Linked DNA regions of Homo sapiens: regions 1, 2 and 3 are each linked to region 4. Evidence: promoter capture Hi-C in 16 types of primary human blood cells and fetal thymus (Javierre and others, 2016). All regions are on one chromosome and are shown on one strand. The core of a region is centred on a gene start or on the middle of the fragment in contact, and the rest is flanking DNA. Distances in the headings are between cores, read along the strand shown. Region 1 overlaps AGBL3 (AGBL carboxypeptidase 3). Region 2 overlaps CALD1 (caldesmon 1). Region 3 has its middle 8.7 kb from the start of TMEM140. Region 4 holds the start of BPGM (bisphosphoglycerate mutase).

Region 1 (5,864 bases), core at 2,423-4,922, 350 kb after region 4:
AGAGCCTAGTTTGTAACTAGTATAATTATCTCCTATTTTAATATTCTGCTATTTATACATTTTAACAAACTTGTACATAAATATTCAGCATAGAAATTAACTCATAATTAAGTAGATCCAGTTCTTACTCAGCCCATTTTTCATTGATATTACATACCAAGGAGGCCGTGATTCAATTTTCCAATACATTTGATCATCATCATATGACTGACTTACCTAAGGGAGAGGAATCATACCAGCAATACCAATGTTATACTGTATCTGCAGTATTGTAGTAGATGTAACCTGAAAAATAAGAATCAAAAGATAATGGCTCATTACCTCTGTCATTAACAATTAATTGGTCCAGTTCATCATTATATCTTATGACCAGAATGTCTCCCAGAGCAATGCCACTCAAGTTTGCAGGCTTCCATTCAACCTTTTCAGCTTCTAAGAGTAAGGCTAGTCTTAGAAAACTGACTTTACCTTTTTGGGCATCTAGGATAATTAAGCTAAGAGACTACAGTCTCTTGCTCTGAGCCTCTCTCAAAACACCAGTGTAATACTAGATTTTCCTCATTACCTATTTCATTTATTTATTCCTGTGCCTTGGCTATTTCTCCTATTTTTCACTTGTCATAATTTTTTACCCAAACGTTTTCACCTTTGGAAGAGTTGTTAGGCTTAGCCACTGTCCTGGTCTAGATTGCCAGCAGTAATACCAGTCTAGCTCGTGCTTCCTTTCAGCTCATTCCCTTTTATTTAGAGTAAGGATATATAGGTACAGAACTAGTGGGCTATCTTGACCACCAGGAAATACAGCTGCATTCACTATCAATCTGAATTTTGCCAGGTGGGGTGAAGACACAGTCCACCCCGTTAGGCCCATAGCAATTCCGACATAAAGGTTGAAAGGTAAGTTTCTTGCTTAAGAATGATTCCTGTTTCTAGCACCTGCAGTCTCCAACCACTGCCCCAGGCTGGAAAAAAAAAGAAAAGTTGAGGTGACTGGAGAAATCATTTTGTAGTTTGTACCAGTGTCCTCCTCTATCCCTTCTCCAGATCCACCATAAAAGAATTTGTCAAGTGGGGACCCACTCTTGTCCCCCTCATGTTGAATGTGCATACACATGAAGGTATATATGTCAGCCCTTCCTGCCTTTATCACCCCCTATTTTAGACAAAAAAAAAAGTTTCAATTACCTTTTCCAATTCTCTAGTAAACCACTAGTCCATTTTGATGTGATATCTTTTTGCCCATCATTAGACACTATGGGCTGTAAAGTGTGTTTCTTGGTCTGAAGAAATATAACTTGATGGTCCAAATTGCCACAGTATCTTCTGTTTCAGTCCTTTTACAGTATTCTAAGCATTTTGTATCCATCTACCTCTGGGGGTGCAAAGCCTAGTCCAGAGTAAATGTCTAGTCCTGTCAGGACCCTTTTATAGTCTCTGGGGGCTACCACAGCATTCCGATGTAGTTACTTGTCAGTTGTGTGTGCCACCTGCTCCCCAGGAAATCTGCCCATAGCCACCTGCGGTCTCCGTCTCTCTTGAAGCATTTATTTGTATTTTGTGCCTCAGAGGGAGTAAGAGAAATATGCCAACAATCAGCCCATGCCTACATTCCTACACCTCTCCCATTTCCATTTATTTCATGGACCCACATGCCCACCTCAAGTAAACACACCAAGTTTTCCACTTACTGGGTCCAGTCATCATCTGATCCTGGAAGAGTGTTCTTCTGGTGGGCACTGACATGTCCTACTTTAATGTGCCCCTAAATTCCATGGTGATTTCCATAGGATGGTGCCCCACATGGGGCATCTAATAGACTAGTTTTTCATCACCCATCTATTTGACCATATGGCCAGCCATTGGCACACCCAAACTTTGATTATTTTTAAATGGAACTTTTATACTTGTTCAGTTTTTTCATCACTGCAAGGACAGCATATAGTTCAGCCTGAGCAGATTGTTCTTACCTTCCTCAATCAGAACTTTTCCATCATCTGATGTAGTACAGTAGTCTTCCAAACAGGATGTTGATTATCCACCTTGGAACTGCCATCAGTCAACCTAGTAGCTCTCTTTCAATAGAGAGCTGTTCATAGGGCACAGCCCAGGTGGCCATAGGATTTGGTGGCTCCTCAGCTGATTTCAAAGTAGGCTCCAGTGGAAAAGAGACCTCCTGCACATGAACAGAATGAGTATCTCCTTGCACTGTCCCAGTAACATTGTCCTGTATAAACCGTTTCCATTTATTATGGAGCCCTTCTGGGCACTGCCTTATTAGAGTGTTTCTTTCACATCACTTAAGGCATTGTGGGCATTTCAGCTTTCACGGTTATATGTCCTTCAGTATAATGGTTAATTTTATGTGTCAGCTTGACTGGGCCACGGGATGCCCAGATAGCTGGTAAAACATTATTTCTGGATGTGCCTCTGAGGGTGTTTCTGGAATAGATTAGCATTTGAATTGGTAGATTCAGTAAAGAAGATCCACCATCACCAATATAAGGAGGTGGGGCATCATCCAATCTATTGAGGGCCTGCTTGAATAGAACAAAAGGATGGAGGAAGGGTGAGAGCTCTCTTCTTGAACTGGGATATTCATCATCTGCCCCAGACATCAGAGCTTCTAGTTCTCAGGCTTTTGGACTTGGACTGGATTACACCACCAGCTTTCCGAGTACTACAGCTTGCACACAGCAGATTGTGAGACTTCTCAGTCTCCATAATTTGTGACAATGTATATACGCATATGTGTATATTCACTGATATAATAAATACACACACACTACTGGTTCTATTTTTTCTGAAGAACCCTGACTAATACATTCAGTCACAGGGGCATTTTCAACTAATGTCCAATAGCAAGTTAGTAATTGGTTCTCAAATGCTGTATATCTTACAGCTGCATCCGAACAATTTCTGGTCCAAATTCCGGCAGTCACTGCTGGATGGTGCTCACAGGCTTTTTCCATAAGCCCCAATCTCTGGCCCATACAGGGCTACTGTAGAGAAAATGTGTCGGTGCCAGCAGCCCAGTTTCTAACACGTCATTGATTAAAGGTGTACTCTATTTTTGTGCACCAGGTATTCTATACTATTTCCAACTAAAATCTGTCGGCTTGGACAATTCTATAGGTTCCCATTTAGCCAGTATACTGGATAAAGGGCAAATTTACATGCCTTCAGTTTTACAATATTAGGTAGGGAAGTGTTCCCCAATCAGATATAAAATCCATCCCAATACATTCAGGTAAAGGAGATACATCCAGTTCACATGAAGTCCATTTAAATATTTCCGTTTTAATCTCAACTTTCACCTTAATTTCATCAACCATTTCATGGCTAAGTCCTCCCAACCTAACTGTAGTCCACATTAGGATATCACCAACAGATTTTGGAACCTCAGTGCATTGGTCTGCCATGTCAAAGAGTCCCAGAAAAGCTTGTTCTCCACCCCCTTTCCATTTTAACCACACGTGCATATAGCCCATGTCCCCAAACAAGGATCAGACTAAAGGACCCTGACCCTTTTCATCAGTCTATCCATATTAGTTTGTGAGACAATTGCCACAGATGATTTGAGGTAACATTTTTTATTGTCCTTTTTGCCTTTCAGCTTTGTTAATTCCTCCAGACTAAGGTAAATAGAACAGATTTGTTTAAAGCTCTTCAAAGTCGGGGTATGCCAGGAGCTCCCATTGGTCTATGTAATCTCCAATAGTGTTTCATTAAGACCTTTGATCCCATCAGTGTCCAACCTGCTGGGATGAGTCCCTTGATTCTTCCTTTTGTCTTTCCCTATTCTTTCATGACTCATGTTATTTTAGCTCTCAGTTTTTTCAGCATGTTATTTGTCCCTTTGTTGGAAACCCTGAAGCTAGTGTCTGTAGCTTGGACCAGCTGAAATTCAAGCTTGGCCCAGTGTCAGGATTTGCCTCAACACTTTACTGTAATTTTAGCTATTACACATAATAACTGAGAGATTGTATGTTTAGCTTGTTTCTTGTCATTTTGCATTTCCTTATGCATCCAGTGAGCCAACTCTTTGGGAGTTAGATTTATCATTTCTAAATTCCAGTGGTGACTTTTACTTCTAGTAACTGATTGCAACACAGCTGCTACTTCACACCATGGGTGGCCCAGTGGCCAAACAGAATCAAAGGTTTGTCAACTCCTACCCTCTTACCCTTCCTTTTCCCAAACCACTCTTTCACCACATTTCAGTGAGTCAGGGTAATTCTAGTGAATCCCACTTCTGATGTCACCTGTGATCAGGAGTCCTGAAGACCACCCCAAGGTTCAATGATTCATTAAAAGGACTCGAGAAATTCAGAAAAACCATGACATTAATGGTTATGGCTTGTTACAGTGAAATGATACAGACTAAAATCAGCTGAATTAATTTAGGGCAGAGTCCAGGAGAGACTAGATGGGGGCTTCCAGTTGTCCTCTCCTGGTGGAGTTTTATAGACAGCACTTACTTCCTCCAGTCATGATGTGAGATAACACTCATGAAGTACTGCTAATCAGGGAAGCTCATCCAGCCTCGGTGTCCAGAGTTTCTATTAGGGACCAGTTATGTCTGTATGGAATGCCCACGTGGCTGGCTTTAGTTATTCAGTCCCCCGCCTCTCCATCCAAAATTAATATAATGTGGCCCAGAGCCCCCCACCACAACTCACATTATTAGCATAAACTATCTGATGTAGCCCAAGGCCCCAAGTAGACAAAGAAACTCTGAACAGGCAGAATATTTCAGGGTCTTAGAGGTTATCTCCCAGGAGTTGGACAAGGTCCAAATCTTTCTTTGGATATACAGGGTTTGGACAACCTAGGCCATCTGAGTGCTGCACAATGAGAGTACCTATTTTCCCATACTCTCATCAATACTGTTAATCACTCATTCTGGTTTTTGACAATCTGATATTGTTTACTTGATATGTGTTTTTTGTTCATGTATTCTTTATGGATGAGATTGGAACATTTTATCTACTGACTTTATATAAGCTACCTGATGAAATCCTTTGCCCATTTTGCTATTGATTAGACTTTTTTTCTTCTCGATCTCTAAGTGCTTTCTGCCTATGCAGGAGATTTGATTACTGTGTCTTATATGTTACATGCTATTTTTCTCAGTTTTTCATTTGCCTTTTTGTCTTTGTCATGCATAAATTTGTAATTTTTATGTAGTTACTTTGTCTATCATTTTTAAATGATTTCTGGGGTTTTGAAATTTTCATACTTCTTAGTAGTGTCCAAGTGTATTTTTTGTGATTAAATTTTTGATCCATCAGGAATCCATTTTGATATAAGAAGTAAACTTCCAATCCAGTCCTATTATTAAATGCCTGGTGAGTTGTTCCAACAAAATTTATTAAATGAATTATCTTTTTCTACCCACTTACAATGCCACATTTATGATATACTAAGCTTTTAGGTCCAATTTTGAATTCTGTTCCATTAATCTGTCTTTTGATATGCCAGCATGAAACTCTATTACTATAGCTTTTAAAGTATAATTCTGTTGTGTGATAAACTTAGTTCCTTACTGTTTTACTGTGTTCAAGATTTTTCTGGCTACGTTTGCCTTATTATGTCTCTATATGGAATCTAAAATAAGCTTTCCTAGTTGTCCTAAAATAAATAAACTGGTAACTTTATTGTGATCACATTAATTTATAGATTAACTTAAGGAAGAGTAACATACTTTTAAAATTGCACCTTCCTGTCCAATAATAAGATTTGTTTCACCATTTATCCTAGTTTTCCTTTATCTCCTTTATTATAGTTTTAATTTTTTTTTTTCTGCACCGTTTCTAAGTTTATTGTTAGGTATTTTATTTTGTTGCTAAAACTAAATATTTTTG
Region 2 (6,040 bases), core at 2,047-4,546, 270 kb after region 4:
AAGAATTTCAGTAGGTTTTGAAACTATTTATTTAAAATGTAAAATTGAAACACCTTGGGATTACTTTGAACTGGAACAACTGATTGACATCAGGACAGACAATTTTTGATACAATTTTCTAGGCAAATTGTATCAAAAAATTGTGCATGGTTAGTGGGGCAGATTTAAGATATTAGTACTGTGCTTCCACCTGTCAAGCCAATTATGTGTTTCTTTGTATATCTTTGGGGATTAAAAAAATTAAGCGGGGCTGAGCGTGGTGGCTCACATCTGTAATCCCAGCACTTTGGGAGGCTGAGGCGGGTGGATCACCTGAGGTTGGGAGTTCAAGACCAGCCTGACCAACATGGAGAAACCCCGTCTCTACTAAAAAAATACAAAATTAGCTGGGTGTGGTGGCACATGCCTGTAATCCCAGCTACTTGGGAGGCTAAGGCAGGAGAATTGCTTGAACCAGGGACGTGGAGGTTGCAGTGAGCCGAGATTATGCCATTGCACTCCAGCCTAGGCAACAAGAGTGAATCTCCATCTCAAAAAAGAAAAAAAAAATTAGGCTATGACTGTCATTTAAAACTAAATGCCTAAATAAACTGAACTTAGAACCAGACCTTCACATTATCGATTACAATGCATTCAGCCAAGATGTTTCAAAAATAATTAAAGTTTTATGAACATTAATAGATTAAATTTAACATTACTTTAAATGTATCTTTGTTTTATTGTCATTCTGTCCTTTTAAATTTCTGTTCATTGTGTTTTGTAATGTCTACAAACATTTAAATAACACTACATGTAATTTATAAATGACTATACATATACGTATAAATGTATATGCATACATAAATGTATATATCAGTGTTATTGGTGCATGCTTAATTTTTAAAATTGATTGTAGTATAGTATGAAAAGTCATTTAGAAACCATTGGCTTAGATCATGGATCACCAAACTTTTTTGTAAATGGTCAGATAGTATATATTTTCAAATTTGTGAGCCATACAGTTTCTGTCATAATAATTGAGCTCTGGCACTGAAGTGCAAAACAGCCATAGATGATAGAGGTGTGGTTGTATTCCTATAAAACTTTATTTGCAAAAACAGAGTGGGCTGGCTTTGGCCTGCAGGTCATAGTTTGCCAATCCCTGGCTCAGATGACTGAAGCTCTTTGTTAGTCTCCAGGGCACCCTAAGAAAGCTTCCTATTGTAGAAAGAAAACAGGTATAGGAACTTGAAGACCTGGGTCAATCCTGATTTTGTAATTACTTTTATGAGTCATTTCACCTCTTAGATCCCAGGTTACCAAGTATAAAATATAAAGCTTGAATTCGAAATAATGTCAAAATTCCTTCTAGTTTCATTAATCTATCATCTTAGATGCTCACTACCTTGCCACAAGCAGTGGATTTCAGCTGGGCTCTGAATGGAAGCAGAATAAGTGAAAATCCAATTTAATACGAGGTGGGCAAAGTGAGTTCAAAACAGTGGAGAAGGTGACAAGAATAAAAAAGGACAGAAATTCCATTCTGAAAAATGTAAAGTCACAGCTTATGGCTCTTGAGGGGTCCTCCATGGTGCTGCTGTTCTAAATGATTGTAGGACTTGCTCAACTGAAGTCTCCTCTTGCAGCTAAGATGGATGGGATCCTTGATATGGGGTAGCTGGCCCTAATTTCTTTTATTTCTTGGGGAAAGCTGCAGAGTGAAATGAAACACCTGGAGTGGAGATTGAAACTAGAAAATGTGTGCTGCCCTTCCGGGACTCCCTTCCACAGGGCCATAGCCTTTGGAAAGAGCCTTATACTTCGTTAAATGATTGGTCTGCTCTTCTCAGTTCTTCGAAGCCATCTTTCTGTATGTACCAAGCACGATTGGCGCCTCACTAATGCCCTTCATGCCTTCCAAGCCCTAGCCAGATGGAATTGTGTGCTTTTCCATAACCATATTTCCCGATTCTGCAACCTTGCTATTTGAGCTTTCTGTACATGGAAAGGTCCTCTTTCATTCCCCCAGCTCCCAATGCTAGCCATCCCAAAAGAGCCAGCTTGAATACCACTTTCTTTATGAAGCCTCCTCTGATCCCTTAGCTGGAATTGCCTTCTTCCTCCTCTAAACTTTAAATCACTTTAAGTCTTCTGTAATATTTACCACATTCTACCTATTATCACATCCTTAACAGGTCTTAACTTCCCTACAGATTATGAACTCCTTTCAGGGGTTGAATTTATCTTGGTTTCTGCCCTCACTGGCTTGAATGGAGTAAATGTTCAATAAATATCTGTTGAATGGATGTGCTAATTCCAGCCACCTGTGTGTCCATTTCCAGGTTATAGCAGCAAGCATTACCTACCAGCATCCCACAACCGCAAGTTCAGACTCCACCTTGGTATCTGGCAGATGGTTCTGAACAATGGTTTGCCACCTCCTCCTCAGAACCTAGGCCCCCATGCCTCCTCCTCGGAACCTAGGCCTTCATGCAGCCCCCTTGCTGCCCAGAGCTCACCACTCTGATGACAGTTCTGAATTGAACTGTCCTTGCCTCCAAGTCTAGGTTCCACGTGGATCAGTCAGGGAGAGGAATGTATACCAGATTAGCAACCCATAAGTCAGTGCCAGTGCTGTCACTTTGTAATTCAGAAATATGAACTTTTTTTTTAAGTCAAGTCAGTGATCTTCACCACTGAAGCAGTTCCTCCTGTATTAGGTAACAAGTTTAAGGAATTAATGATTACATTGGTGATCTAGTCAGAAGACAGCATAAGCCTTATTGGTTAGTAAACTAATCTAACCAATGAATTAGGATGGAATTGCCTTGTTGGGATAGAAATCTGTTCCAGGAGAGACAGGAACCCTCAAGTCATTTAAGTGCTGTAGAATGTCTCTAATGCTCATGCTCCCTCTCTCAGAGTCCTGATTCCCTGAGTCTTAAGCTGTTGGTGATTCTAACTCAATTTGCACACACAAATGTGGGTGCTTAGTTATTTAATATTATTCTATCTGTTAAAACATTCACATTTTTATAGGGGTCTTCTATTAACTCAAAGGGAGTCTTTAAGCATAGAAGATTCTACTTGGTTTGGTTTGGTCAGGCTGGCTTTTTACCAAATCACAACAAATGGGTGTTTGCTTTTCTCCCTCCACATTGAGCAGGCCCTGTGTTAAGCAAGGTTTCCACTGATTTAGGAAGATGATCTATCAAGAGCAGAGAAGACTCCTTGACTTCTTTTCTCAACAGTAGGGAGATGGGACCCATGAGCAGTGGTTGACTGCCAAGTCCCCTGCAAGAATAAATATTCTCTTCAATGGGCAAAGCATCCATGATTTGGCCCTTCATTTCCCATTTCCTGTCTCCACTCAAGGTTTGTCTTTTTACTTTCTGCCACTTGTACACAAAGCTCTCCAATGCTAGCACATGGAGTGGGGGTATGAGCCAACTGGATGTTAGATAGGTGTGTGCAGGACCTCTGGAGTCAGGCAGGTAGGGTTCACCCCATTCTTGTTAGAATGGCAGTGACTTCTTCCCTAGCAGAGCTAGCAACAATGCCCCAGTGTCAGATCTATCATATATTACAGTTTCCTGTCTGAAGAAGAGATGAGGGGTACAAGAGGGAGGAACAAGATGGGAGGCAATGCCACTCGAGTGGAAAGGAGCCCTGGGAAGGAGGAAATGAATAGTAAATCTTTTTCCAATTAAGAAAAATGAGAGTGGAAGCAGAAAAGCTCCAGAGGGCACTTTTAGGGGAGGGAAAGATCATAAAAGGCCTGTTATGAAAATCTATTACCCATAAATTTCCCCACATTAAGCAGAGCCTGTCTAGAGAGGATGCTGAGAATTCACTCAGCTGACACAAGATATGTGACTTGATTTAGTGGCATCCACATGCTGTGTACCGTTTCCATTGGCATGTCTGCAATACCACTTTCCCTTGCAGGGATCCCCTTTAATTACTCGCAGGCTTATAATCTCCATTTAAGGACATCTTGCTTCCATTTTCCAATCGCTTTATGTCTTTTGTCAGATGTTTACCGATGTGATAGTGGTACCATAATTTGAAGCTCAACCACATGAGATTATGGACTTTAGTATTGCATCACATGAACATTTCAGATTTAGGGATGAGTCGAACTTCTAGATCACTCTAAATATAAGACTTATCTAAAAGGAGTTCATATTTTTTACATTTGAAGACGACAGTGGAAATTTCTCTTTCTAGGTGATTGTCTTCAGATACGAAAATAATGTGCTTGTTTATATACCTGTGGTCAAATGTCATTGCATCCAACTTAGCCAGTAGAAATGTGAGAATATCCCTACATCCTGCTCTGGAGCAGGTGTGATTCAGTTGCATATCCAGATCTAGACCTCTATGCAAGAGAAAGAGCTGGAAAAATATAGTGCTGCCAGCCATCGACACCTGGGTCTGAACTGTTTCCTAATGTTTTACTTTTTTTAAACGACTAAGCCCAAGGTTTATTGTCCACATCTACGATGCACATTAAAGCAAAATTGTCCTTTAATAGATAATAGCAGTCAAAGAACAGCTCCAACTCAGATTTTACTTTTGATTGACAACATTTTTTAAAAGCCTAAGTTCACTGAGGATCATATTTATTTAAAAAAAATTTTTATTTTTTTGAGACGGAGTTTTGTTCTTGTTGCCCAGGCCGGAGTGCAATGGCGTGGTCTCAGCTTACTACAACCTCCATTTCCTGGGTTCAAGAGATTCTCCTGCCTCAGCCACTTGAGTACCTGGGATTACAGGTGCGCACCACCACGCCCAGCTAACTTTTTGTATTTTTAGTAGAGACGGAGTTTCACCATGTTGGCCAGGCTGGTCTCGAACTCCTGACCTCAGATGATCCACCCACCTTGGCATCCCAAAGTGCTGGGATTACAGGCATGAGCCAGCACACCAGGCCTATTTAAAATTCTTACTCATTATTTAAGACTGTTATAAACAAAGAATTCTAGGTTGGGGATGAAGAAAAGGTAAAGTTCATGAAAACCCAGGTAGTAACTGGGCTTATCTTTTTTAGCCACATTTATACCAGTTGAATCTTAAATAATGATGGAAAGAGAGGAAGGAGTTTGGTTATTTTATTTTAATTATCTTCCTGGCCACTTAAGCATTCATAACTCCTTTTCATTCATTTCAGCTAAAGTTTAATTCAAGTAACTAAGTCAGGAGCAATAGATATCTTCTCCACCATCAACCCTGTCTTTCCTTACATATTCTTTGTAAACATTTATAAATTAAAAAGTGAATGTTTGTATCTGAGCAAGCTTATTGATTTAATAGGGTGGGGTAGATGGGGTGGTGCAAATTCTGTCCCTGTTTGTGGCAAGATGAATAGATTTTAGTTTATCTTAGGAAACTGTCATGGACTTATCCTTCCAAAATCCATATTTACTGGGGTTGGCAGATGCACTATTTCTTTTAAAAATAAATGTGAGAAAAATAGCAACTCAATAAAAGATAAATCCAGTTTCTATTCATTTTATTTGTACTGAATATCACAAACCATTTCTGGATGTTTTAAAAGAAAATGGCACCAATTGAAAAAGAAGTTAAACATCTATCCCATACAAATTATAATCTCAAGAAATGTTTGGAAAAGCTTGTGCCTCATCTGTTGTTATAAACTACAGCTATTGATATAAACATAGATGAATCTCAAAAACATCATGTCAAATAAAAGAATCACAGAATGCATGCAGTATTGTTATGCATAGTTTATTTAAGGCAACACTGAAAAATATGCTGTTTAGGGATGCATACCATGCTGGTAATACTACAAAGAAAAGCAAGAGAATAATTCAGAGATCTTAAAATTCAGGCTGGTGCTTATTTGGAGGCATATAAAAAGAGATAGGGATGCGATTGAAGAGGAGCACATAAGGATCCCTAACAACTGGTGCTGTTTACATTGGGTAGTAGGCACATGGTTGTGTGTCTGATTGTTCTTTAAAGTAGTCATGTACATGGCTAGGCGTAGTGGCTCACGCCTGTAACCCAGAACTTTGGGAGGCCAAGGCAGGCAGAT
Region 3 (5,739 bases), core at 1,635-4,134, 490 kb after region 4:
AGTGATTATCTTGGGCAAGAGCAGAAGTCTACTTGCTTTTGGGATGCCCTCTGCCAGGTAGGTGCTCGGGCTTGGGAAAGCCAGAGGTTAATGTTCCGGATCATAGCATTTATTGTAGCTGACTTCAGGATGGAGTAAGAGTTCTCAAAATTCCATTGGCCCTTCTCCACAAAGATCAGGACAAAAGCCTAAACTCTGGGAAAATATTTTTAATTCAGTGAAATGTCATTTGAATCTTCGACTGCCTAAGAGTTTGAAATTGTAAACTCTGGAATGTATTGTCTTTGTGGATGACCAAAAAAGGTGATAAACCAGTTTCCTGGAAGATTTAGGGATGCACAGATATTACCTAAACAATTTTACCTTGGTCCATAATTGCACTCCTTGTATTTGATACAAATATAAGATGCTTTACCCAAAGTAAGAGGATTGGCAGTCCACTTCCTCACTATGCTACAATACTTTCAGTTTTCTGAGCATGCCACTCTCTCATAAAAGCTATTTATTCTCTCAGCCCAGCATCTCCTCCACCTGGCAGCCCCTACTTCTTTAAGATTCAACTCAACTGCTGCCTTCTCTGGCAAACCTTCCATATATTTCCATAGAAATTTAAAACAACTACGATGAATATGCTGACAGTTCTAATGGGAAAATTGGACAATGCAAGAACAGATGGGTAATATAAGCAGAGAGATGGGAACTAAGAAACAAAAAAAAAATGCTAGAAATCAAAAACACTGTAACAGAATGAATGATGATGGACTACCCAACAGGTAAGACACAACTGAGGAAAGAGTCAGTATGCTTAAAACAATGTCAATAGAAACTAGCAAAACTTAAATGCAGAGCAAAAAAGAATGAAAAATTCAGAATATCCAAAAACTGCAGGACAATTTTAAAAGGTATGTAACGTGTAATGGGACTACTGGAAGTAAAGGAAAAAAAGGAACACAAGAAATATTGAAGCAGTAATGACGGAGAATTTCTCAAAATGAACGACACCAAACCACAGATCCAGAAAGCTCACAGAATACCAGGAATGATAAATACCAAAAAAATCAAAGACCAAGAAAAAATCTTGAAAAAAACACCTTATGTATAGATAAGCAGGGATAAGAATTACATCAGACATCTCTTCAGAAACCATGCAAGAAAGAAGAGAGTGGAGTGAAACATTTAAAGGGTTTAAAGAACCACTGTCTCAGCTCAGGCTGCTGTAACAAAATACCATAAACTAGGCTGCTTAATGAAACAATAGAAATTTATCTCAGTTCTGAGGCTGGGAAGTCCAAGATCAAGATGTCAACAGATCCAGTGTCCAGTGAGGGCAGTCATCTTGGTTTGCAGGTGGCCTTCTTGTTGTATCCTCGCATGGTAGGGAGAGATCATCCCACGTCTCTTCTTATGATCACTAATCTCATTCATGAGGGCTTCACCCTCATGACCTAATTACCACCCAAAGGTCCTGTCTTCTAATACGATCACACTAGGGGTTAGGATTGCAACATATGAAATTTGGGGGATGCAACATCAGACCATAACAACCGCTGACTACAGTTCTGTATCCAGTGAAATTGTCCTCCAAAAGTGAAAGAGAAATGGACTTTTTCAGACAAACAAAAATTGTGGGAATTTGTCATCTCTAGAGCTGCTCTTTTTTTTAATGTTAAAAGAAATTCTTTAGAAAGGATGAAAATTATACAGGTCAGAAATTCTGGCCTACGTAAACAAAGGGAAAGCAATAGAAAAGGAATAAATGAAGGTAAAATAAAATCTTTTATTTTTCTTAATTACCTAACAGATAATAGTTTGTTCAAAACAATAACAGTGTATTCAGAAATTATAGCTTATTGATAAGTGAAATGAATAGCAGCAATGTTGTAAGGAATCGGAGGGAGGAATTGGGAATACCCTGTTACAAAATACTTGTACTACCAAAGAAGCAAGTGGTATAGGGTTATTTGAGAAAGGATTGGATTCATTGTAAATGTATCCTGTAAATTCAAGGGTAAAAAAGAGGTAGAATTGATATACTAAAATAGGAAAAAAATCAAATCATACAAAATATTCAATTAAAATAGAAGGAGGTAGAAAACAAGTGGAAGACAAAATAATAAAGGTTTGTTACATGGGTAAATTGCATGTTGTGGGCATTTGGTGTACAGATTATTTCATCATTCATGTAATAAGCATAATACACAATAGGTAGATTTTCGATCCTCACCCTCCTCCCACCCTTCACCCTCAAGTAGGCCCTAGTGTCTATTGTTCCCTTCATTGTGTCCATGTGTACCTAATGTTTAGTTCCCACTTATAAGTGAGAACTTGTGGCATTTGGTTTTCTGTTCCTGCATTAATTTGCTTAGGATAATGACCTCCAGCTTCACCCATGTTGCTGTAAAGGACACTATTTCATTCTTTTATATGGCTGCATAGTATTCTATGGTATATGTGTACCACATTTTCTTTATTCAGTCCACCATTGATGGTCATCTAGGTTAATTCTATGTCTTTGCTACTGTGAATAGTGCTACAGTGAACATACACATGCATGTGTCTTTATGGTAGAACAATTTATATTCCTTTGGATATATACTGCATAATGGGATTGCTGGGTCAGATGATAGTTGTGTTTTAAGTTCTTTGATAAATCCCCAAACCACTTTCCAAAGTGACTGAACTAATGTACATTCCTGCCAACAGTGTGTAAGCATTCCCTTTCCTCTGCAACCTCACTAGTTTTTTTTTACTTTAACAATAGCCATTCTGACTGTTGTGAGATGGTATCTCATTGTGATTTTGATTTGCATTTATCTAATCATTAGTGATGTTGAGAATTTTTTCATATGCTTGTTGGCCATGTGTATGTCTTCTCTTGAGAAGTGTCTATTCGTGTCCTTTGCCCTTTTTTTTTTAATGAGGTTGTTTTTTGCTTGTTACGTTTTTTATAGATTCTTAATATTTGACCTTTCTTAGATGCATAGTTTACAAATATTTTCTCCCCTTCTATAGGCTGTTTACTGTGCTCAAAGTTTCTTCTGCTGTGCAGAAGCTCTTTAGTTTAATTAGGTCCCACTTGTAATTTTTGTTTTTGTTGCAATTGCTTTTGTAGTCTTTAACGTGAAATATTTGCCAGGGCCTATGTCCAAAATGGTATTTTCCAGGTTTTCTTCTATGCTTTTTATAGTTTTAGGTTTTACATTTAAGTCTTTAATCCATCTTGAGTTGATTTTTGTATATGGTGAAAGGAAGGGGTCCAATTTCAATTTTCTGCATATGACTAGCCAGTTATTCCAGCACCATTTATTGAATAGGGTGCTCTTTCCCCATTGCTTGTTATTGTTGACTTTGTCAAAGATCAGATGGTTGTAGGGTACAACATTATATATGGGTTCTTTAACCTGTTTCATTAGTCTGTTTTTGTACCAGTACCATGTTGTTTTGGTTACATAGCCTTGTAGTATAGTTTGAAGTCAAGCAGTGTGATGCTTCCAGCTTTGTTCTTTTTGCTTAGGATTGCTTTGGCAATTCAGGCTCTTTTTTGGATCCACATGAATTTTAGAATAGTTTTTTTTTTCTAATTCTGTAAAAAATATTGTAGTTTGATAAAGAATACATTGAATCTGTACATTGTTTTGGGCAGTAAGTCCATTTTAACAATATCGATTCTTCCTATCCATGAGCATGGAATGTTTTTCCATTTATTTGTGTCATTTCTTATTTTTTTCAGCAGTGCTTTGTAATTCTCATTGTAGACATCTTTCACGTCCCTGGTTAGTTGTATTCGTAGGTATTTTTATCTACTTGTGGTTATTATGAATGGGATTGCATTCCTGATTTGGTTCTCAGCTTGGACATTATTGGTGTATAAGAATGCTATTGATTTTTGTACATTGATTTTGTATCCTGAAACTTTGCTGAAGTTGCTTAGCAGATCTAGGAGCCTTTGGGCAGAGACTATGGGGTTTTCTAGGTATAGAGTCATATAATCTGCAGAGAGATAGTTTGACTTCATCTCTTTTTATTTGGACGCCTTTTATTTCTTTCTCTTGCCTAGTTGCTCTGGCTAGGACTCCCAATACTATGTTGAGTAGCAGTGGTGCAAGTGGACATCCTTGTTTTGTGCCCATTTTCAAAGGGAATGCTTCCAGCTTTTGCCCATTTAGTATGCTGTTGGCTGTAGGTTTATCATAGGTGGCTCTTATTATTTTGAGGTATGTTGCCTTGATCCCTAGTTTGTTGAGAGTTTTTAACATGAAGGGATGCTGAATTTTATCAAAAGCCTTTTCTGCATCTATTAAGATGATCAATAGATGCAGGAAAGATTGTTTATAGTTCTGTTTATGTGATGAATCACATTTATTGATTTGCATATGTTGAACCAACCTTCCATCCACCTTGAACATGGTGGATTAGCTTTTTGATGTGCTGCCGGATTCGGTTTGCTAGTATTTTGTTGAGGATTTTTTCCTCTATGTTCATCAAGGATATTGACCTGAAGTTTTCTTTTTTTCATTGTGCCTCTGCCAGGTTTTGGTATCAGGCTGATGCTGACCTTATAGACTGAGTTAGAGAGGAGTCCCCACTCCTTGATTTTTTGGGATAGTTTCAGTAGGTTTGCTACCTGTTTTTCTTTGTATGTCTGGTAGAATTCAGCCATGAATCTGTATGGTCCAGGGCCTTTTCTGGTTGGTAGGTTTTTATTACTGATTCAATTTCAGAACTTGTTATAGTATGTTCAGGATTTCAATTTCTTCCTGGTTCAATCTTGGGAGGTGGTATGTTTCTAGGAATTTATCCATTTCTTCTAGGTTTTCTAGTTTGTATGCATACAGTCATTCATAATTGTCTCTGAGGGTTTCTTATACTTTTGTGGGGTCAGTGGTAATGTCCCCTTTGTTATTTCTGATTGTGTTTATTTGGATCTTCTCTGTTTCTTCATTAGTCTAGCTAGTGGTCTATCAATTCTATTTATTCTTTCAAAAAACCAACTTTTGGTTTTGTTGATCTTTCGTATGTTTTTTTGTGTCTCAGTTTCATTCAGTTCAGCTCTGATTGTGCTTATTTATTTTCTTCTTCTAGCTTTGGGGTCGGTTCACTCCTGTTTTTCTAGTTCTTCTAGGTGTGGTGTTAGATTGTAAATGTGAGATCTTTCTTTTGGATGTTGGCATTTAGTGCTACAAACTTTACCCTCAATCCTGCTTTAGCTGTGTCCCAGACATTCTCATATGTTGTATATTTGTTTTCATTAGTTTCAAAGAATTTCTTGATTTCTGCCTTAATTTCATTGTTTACCCATAAGTAATTCAGGAGCAAATTGTTTAATTTCTATGTAATTGTATGGTTTAGAGAAATCTTGGTGTTGATTTCTACTTTTATTGTGCTTTATTCTGAAAGAGTGGTTGGTATGATTTCATTTTTTCTTTAATTTCTGAGAATTGCTTTATGGCCAAGCATGCGGTTGATCTTAGAGTATGTGCCATATGCAAATGAGAAGAATGTATATTCTGTTGTTGTTGGGTGGGGTGTTCTGTAGATGTCTGTTAGGTCCATTTGGTCAAGTGTCAAGTTTAGTTCCAGAATATCTTTGTTAGTTTTCTGCCTCAGTGATATGTCTAATACTGTAATGTGTCATGACAGTAAAAGAAAAAGTTGAATTGCTTGATATGCACCATAGATTGAGATCTGCAGCTGCATTTGCCCACTATTTCAGACAATTTATTTCATAAACAGATAATG
Region 4 (5,661 bases), core at 2,994-5,493:
TTTAGAGAAAGCAGCAGCCCATTTAAATCAATGAATCTTTTTAGGAAACTGAAACAAGTTCAATGCCCAAGAGTAGAGAATTGGTTGGACAGTTCTCTACTCTTGTACATACCACCTGGATGCACATTCACGTAATGGGATTATATACGGAAGAAAAATATTAAATGACATTGGGACATGTTAATAACAAATTAAGTAGAAAAGATTGCCACAAAACAGTATATATACTAAGAGTCCAGGTTTTTTTTTAAGTAATTGATTTATGGGAAAAATAGGATATACAAAATGTTAAAAATAAATTCTGGAGGGTGGGATTATAGGTATTTTAAGTTTTTTCTTTTCTAAACCTTATACAATAAACATTTTAAAACATAAATTTATAATTAATAAATATAAGCTTTAAAAAAAACTCCATAGGGCAGAGTTTGTGTTTACCAGCATATAAACAACAAGCATTTAAAGAAACATGGGTTTTTCCTTAGTGGAGTAGAGAATTTGTAAAAGAGGAAAGCACCTCTCTTGATTCCTCATGTTTCTACCTTTTTCCCCTATCCTTGTCCCAGATCTGAAAGTAGTGGGGAAAAAAAATCAACCTGGCTCTTTTCCTATGCCAAGGTGCTTAGTCAATGTTTAGTTTTACTGTAGGGGAATTTCACATAGATCAGGCTTCCCAATACCAGAGGTTCCTGGCTCTGCCACTGGGTCTGTACCCTCTTTGGCATTCACTTCCTGCCCATTACCTCCCTGGGTAGCTGCAAGATAGCTGGGGAAATCCCAGTCTCATGCCCTCTGCAAGAGTCCAGGTCTCCACTTGAGTGGAGAGCAGGAAAAAGAGGCAAGCGCAATGCCAAGACTTTACTGAGTAATTTGAATAAGAATACTTGTAAATAGGTAAAATGCTTTACATTTATCATTACCATAATTGTTAAGAATAACAACTACCATTTATGAGATGCTTTCCATGTGGCAGGCACACATCACATTATCCCACTTAATTTTCACATTAGCGATTTGGGTATTATCTCTGTTTAACAGATAAAGACACTGAGGCTGAGGTCAAGCAATTTGCCTAGGCTATTCTGCATTTTGCTAGCCTAGCAAAACCATTGGCTCCTTCCTTCCAGCAAACTCTAGAGTTAGCTATGATTGTGAGGCTTCCCCAGCCACATGGAACTGTAAGTCCAATTAAGCCCCTGAGTTCCCAGTGCTGGAAAGTGACAGACACAAGGTGCTTCAAAGATTGCAAAGCTATTCCAAAACTGCCTCCATGATTCTTCACCCTACTCTGTGAGGAAGATGAGGATTCTAAGTTTTAACTTCTGAAAGAAAGGGACAGACTTTAAGGTCCCTTCTGAGAGGTCTGGATGGCTGACCCATAACAGCATTTCCAGTTTTTAGTTTCAGAAAAGGGAGTCTTGTACTTAGGAGGTCAATGATGGGGGCCACGCATAGGTCTATTATACTAGGTTACGAGTGGTAAATTTTAATCTGACCCTGAAGTAAGTAGGGTACAGTTGGAGACTAAACACTGGCAGCAAATAACCAACTCATGGTGTGTCCTGATACTGTGAAGAAAAGGAGACACTCCTGTACATGGCATATAGAACTAGCTAACTCTGGAGTTTGCTGGAAGGAGGGAGCCAATGGTTCTGCTAGGCTAGCAAAAGGGAGAATAGCCTAGGTCCGTGGATGATGTTTTGATGCACGGTGGACCAATTCAGCCATACGTGGAAAAGGCTAGAGGCTCTGTGCACATAACTGTGAAATTATTTTGACCAGGTATGTATGCTATCAATAAAATAGTGGTTTATTCAGGTCACAAGGAAGACAATTTTCAACTAAAACTCAAAGTATCACATGGGTTAATACTGACTTTTTGATATACACCTGTAACAGAAAGGAAGACAAAGAGACAACATAGCTATAATAATTTATTGCTTTTCATTTCTTGTTTGGATAAAAGTGAGACTACATCAAAAGCTGTTTGATGACACTGAATTATTTTCATAGTATCTATATCACTTGCTGTATCAGAACTGAAGTCCTCATGACTGGTCTTCAATGGAAGTGAATCCTAAAATTAATCTTAATTTAAAAAATACATTGCTTTTGGGGTGAGGAGGAGAAGGCAGCAGGAAGAGGAAGCATCTTCCCAGAATTATATGAATTAGCAACCTTGGGTCCTAGCCCAGGATTTGTCCCCAACCAAGTAATTCTGAGCACATCACTTAAGCTTCAGTTTCTTTATCTGTACAACAAGGAGCTAGAGTTTAATTTCCAAAGCCCTGTCAAGTACTAAGTTTGTACAAGTCTAATATTCTTTGGAGTTCATCTTTGCCTTAAATGGATTTATGATCATCTTTGTGAACCACGACCTCGTTATTTAAAAATTCATAAGAGAGACAGCTCATCGAATAGACCAGGACACAGGGTTCAGGATATGATACTGTAACATAATTAAGTATGGAGAACAATCTTGCCATAGGGCAAAAGTAACTCCTGAAATTCTGTTAGCCTCTGTGCACATTTGTCTTACAAACATGCTTGCTCCTGATGAAAATCTGCTTTTTAATTCCTTCTAGACAGAATCACTGATATAAGCTTCCATCTTATATCAAAATGACTCATTCATAAGCCACATACTCTTGCGAATGATTCTAAAAGGCAAGTGATGTTTGATATTAAGGTTTTATGTGACAAGCTAGCATTCCATGGGTGTCCATAACAACAGTAAACTTAAATCCAATGAGTAGGCGCCCTTAAGTCCAGACTAAGTAGCCCTAAATGCCAAATGCCACAAGACTGTCACTTGGTAATGACTGTCATTAGCCTCCGGAGTATGGATGGTGGGCACTCTGAATAGGAGCTTTATTACACTGTAGAAGAAAAGCTTTCTCCTTACTTTGTCCTCAACTGATATTGAGAAAAAAGCAAGAGGGCAAATGTATAAGATTTGGAAGCTGCCCCTTCCAGCTGTTCTGGCCTGAACTCTAGTTAATCTTGTGCAAGTTAAATTCTAACTATCACTAGGTGAGACCTATCACCTGCTGGGACCTGTCAAGCCTCGGATTAGTGCCGTCCCGGAAGTAAAGTTCTGTTGATATCCCAGGAGGAACTGTCATGCTCTAACATGGATAAATGAGATACAGAACTGGCTACGATTAGGTCTTAATGAGTTCAATAAAGAGTGTGTCACAGAATTTCAAATGTGGAAAGATTATCTTTTCAACTGTATGTATAATTTATTCTGAGGACTTGCTTGCGTGTCACAAACCTAATGCATTTGTTAGGAGGATGAAACAGGAAAAACTCACAGGAGGACACGAAACACTACTTAGGATAGCTTCTAAGAAGGGAATCTCCCATAACATTCCTTATCTTTCCCGCCCACCCAAGAGTTCTGACACATATGCTTCAAAACCTCGTGTGGTAGTTCAAGCCTGCTTAGAAGCTTTTAAGGCCTCGTGCCAGGTTTCCGGTGTTTTCATAGATTTCTCTTGTTCAGTTATTGTCGCCTCCAAATTTGTCATTCTCTCATTCCACTCTAGCCTCCCTTCCTCTGTGCAATAAGCTTTTAGGGCATTCCATTAATCACTTTTCTTCCCCACCTAAAATACTGTCAGCAAACTGCCTAGGGGAATCCCTATAAAAGCGGTAAGAGAAAGTAAGGTTGCGTTACTGCCTATAAATTGGGCACTTTAAAGGCATTTGTTTTAATCACGACTTAAGACTTTCAACCACGAGTAATTTGTGCGAAAGGAGCTTCTTCTGGGAGGATACCTCGGCTTCGTCTTCAGGTTTCAATCCCTAAATTTCCCATAAGTAAAAGAAACATCACCTCCTCTCTTCCAAGAGTCCGCTGACACCTGTCTTCACCCGCAGGTGTTTCTTTTAAGACGTTAAACGCTTTCTAGAACCTCAAACAGCTAAGATGCTCCCCGCACCCGAGGTTTTGCACCAGCGACGCTCTAGGGTGTGTTTTTCTACTTCCCTAGGCCCAAGCCTGCCCGCTGGCGTCGAAGCCAACTCCTTACTGGTTCAGGTATGTGCTCGTCTCTAGAGTAAACCAATCAGAGCCCCACTTCTTACTCCTGGGATTTGGTAAACGGAAGAGACCTCTCCTGTTCCGGGAGTAGGCCGGGACCGTGGATGAGTGACAGTTCGACTTTCCAATAGGCAGAGCCCTAGGACCTGCCCACGTCTGGTTCAGGGGCTAGAAAAGAGCGTCGATGCCGGCGGCAGTGATGAGTCCTAGGAGGCGCTGGCTCTTTGGCGGCTCGGAGGAGCGGCTGCTGCTGCTGCTGCTGCTGCTGGTGGCCCCTTTGCAGGTGAGTGGCTTTGTTTTAGAAAATGTTGCGAACGTTTACATTTTTTAGTGATGTGATGTTTTATTTTTGGGTGCGGGGAAGGCCAGTTTCTTTACTTCCCCCGGTTTAGTCGTTGGTGGGAGTCTGGTGCCCACTCCAGCCCTCAAGCTGGGACCCTCACTTATCGCCCCGGTCCCTTTCCCTTGTCCCTATCTCAGAATGAGCCTCGCAGGCAGTCACCGTTCTGTCAACTGAGAGGAGGAGCCCGCTTTGGTAGTGCTGTCCTTATGGCAAGAATATATAGAAGTTGGAGGGAAGATAAACTCTCTTCTGGATGTCTGAGGTACTGTGTAGCAGAGCCCTTCCAATAGTAAGATCCCCTGGAAGGAAGCAGGGCGATGCCGCTGTATTTAGGGTTCTGGCAGACCTGGCCCTATCTATCATTTTGTGTAGTAGACAGAAAAACTCGAATGCGGTGAAAAGAGAAGGAGGTGAATATATGCAGTGTTTTCATGTAGGAATCTGGAGCCAAATCACAAGTTCTTAGAACCACTAGAAATAAAAACGTAAGTGTATTTTCCTCTTTTCTAAGGGACGAGCTGGTATTACACTAGAGAAGGTCAATGAAATGCATAATTGCAGTTAAGTTCACAGTTAAGCTTTAAAGAATAGTTGGTTGTTAGCTAACTTATAACTCTCATCCCCCTACTGCCTCCCTTGCAAATTACGGAAGATCTTTAGCTTGTGAGTGGTACTAGAATGTTAGCTGACTAAATGCAGACTCTTTCCAAGAAGGGGAAAAATCAAAAGCTAAGTTTCACCTGTAGGTACTAAAGGTTTTTTAATAGTGAAAGCAGAACTCATGTCAATTTGTCTTTTATTTTTTATTTTTTTTGAAACGGAGTCTCGCTCTGTCGCCCAGGCTGGAGCGACTGCAGTGGCTCGATCTCGGTTCACTGCAACCTCCGCCTACCGGGTTCAAGTGATTCTCCTGCCTCAGCCTCCCAAGTAGCTGGGATTACAAGCATAGGCCACCACGCCTGGCTGATTTTTGTATTTTTAGTAGAGACGGGGTTTCACCATGTTGGCCAGGGTGGTCTTGAACTCCTGACCTCAGGTGATCTGCCTGCCTCGGCCTCCCAAAGTGCTGGGATTACAGGCGTGAGCCACCGTGCCTGGCCTTGTCTTTTTTCTTTCTTTCTTTCTTTTGTTTTGGTTTTTTTTTTGTTTTGTTTTCAGACGGAGTTTCGCTTCTGTTGCCCAGGCTGGAGTGCAATGGCGCGATATTGGCTCACCGCAACCTCCGCCTCCTGGATTCAATCGATTCTCCTGCCTCAGCCTCCCGAGTAGCTGG

The links. Contacts are between HindIII fragments. The CHiCAGO score rates a contact against its expected background, and 5 or more counts as called.
Region 1: a fragment that was not itself captured here is called in contact with the fragment with the promoter of BPGM in region 4 in 3 of 17 cell types (total CD8 T cells, naive CD4 T cells and naive CD8 T cells); the score reaches 7.2 in total CD8 T cells.
Region 2: a contact is called between a fragment that was not itself captured here and the fragment with the promoter of BPGM in region 4, in 1 of 17 cell types (naive CD4 T cells). The highest score is 5.9, in naive CD4 T cells.
Region 3: a fragment that was not itself captured here is called in contact with the fragment with the promoter of BPGM in region 4 in 8 of 17 cell types (total CD4 T cells, naive CD8 T cells, activated CD4 T cells and 5 more); the score reaches 9.6 in total CD4 T cells.

The regions. Positions count from the first base shown.
Region 1 is chr7:134,997,867-135,003,730 of GRCh38, forward strand. All of the region lies in intron 4 of AGBL3 (AGBL carboxypeptidase 3), which reads left to right. Among named protein-coding and RNA genes, the nearest start is that of AGBL3, 14 kb to the left of the region's middle. The HindIII fragment of the contact is 470 bases long and covers 3,438-3,907 here.
Region 2 is chr7:134,912,735-134,918,774 of GRCh38, forward strand. The region is part of intron 3 of CALD1 (caldesmon 1); the gene reads left to right. Among named protein-coding and RNA genes, the nearest start is that of AGBL3, 71 kb to the right of the region's middle. The HindIII fragment of the contact is 3,962 bases long and covers 1,316-5,277 here.
Region 3 is chr7:135,136,512-135,142,250 of GRCh38, forward strand. It overlaps a transcript of CYREN not described here. Among named protein-coding and RNA genes, the nearest start is that of TMEM140, 8.7 kb to the right of the region's middle. The HindIII fragment of the contact is 8,610 bases long and covers 1-5,739 here.
Region 4 is chr7:134,642,610-134,648,270 of GRCh38, forward strand. It overlaps BPGM (bisphosphoglycerate mutase), which reads left to right and starts at 4,244. Exons shown (of 3, transcript NM_001724.5): 1 at 4,244-4,328. All of the region lies in intron 1 of LOC124901750 (a long non-coding RNA gene), which reads right to left. RefSeq lists enhancers at 4,221-4,370, 4,471-4,580. The HindIII fragment of the contact is 1,395 bases long and covers 3,570-4,964 here.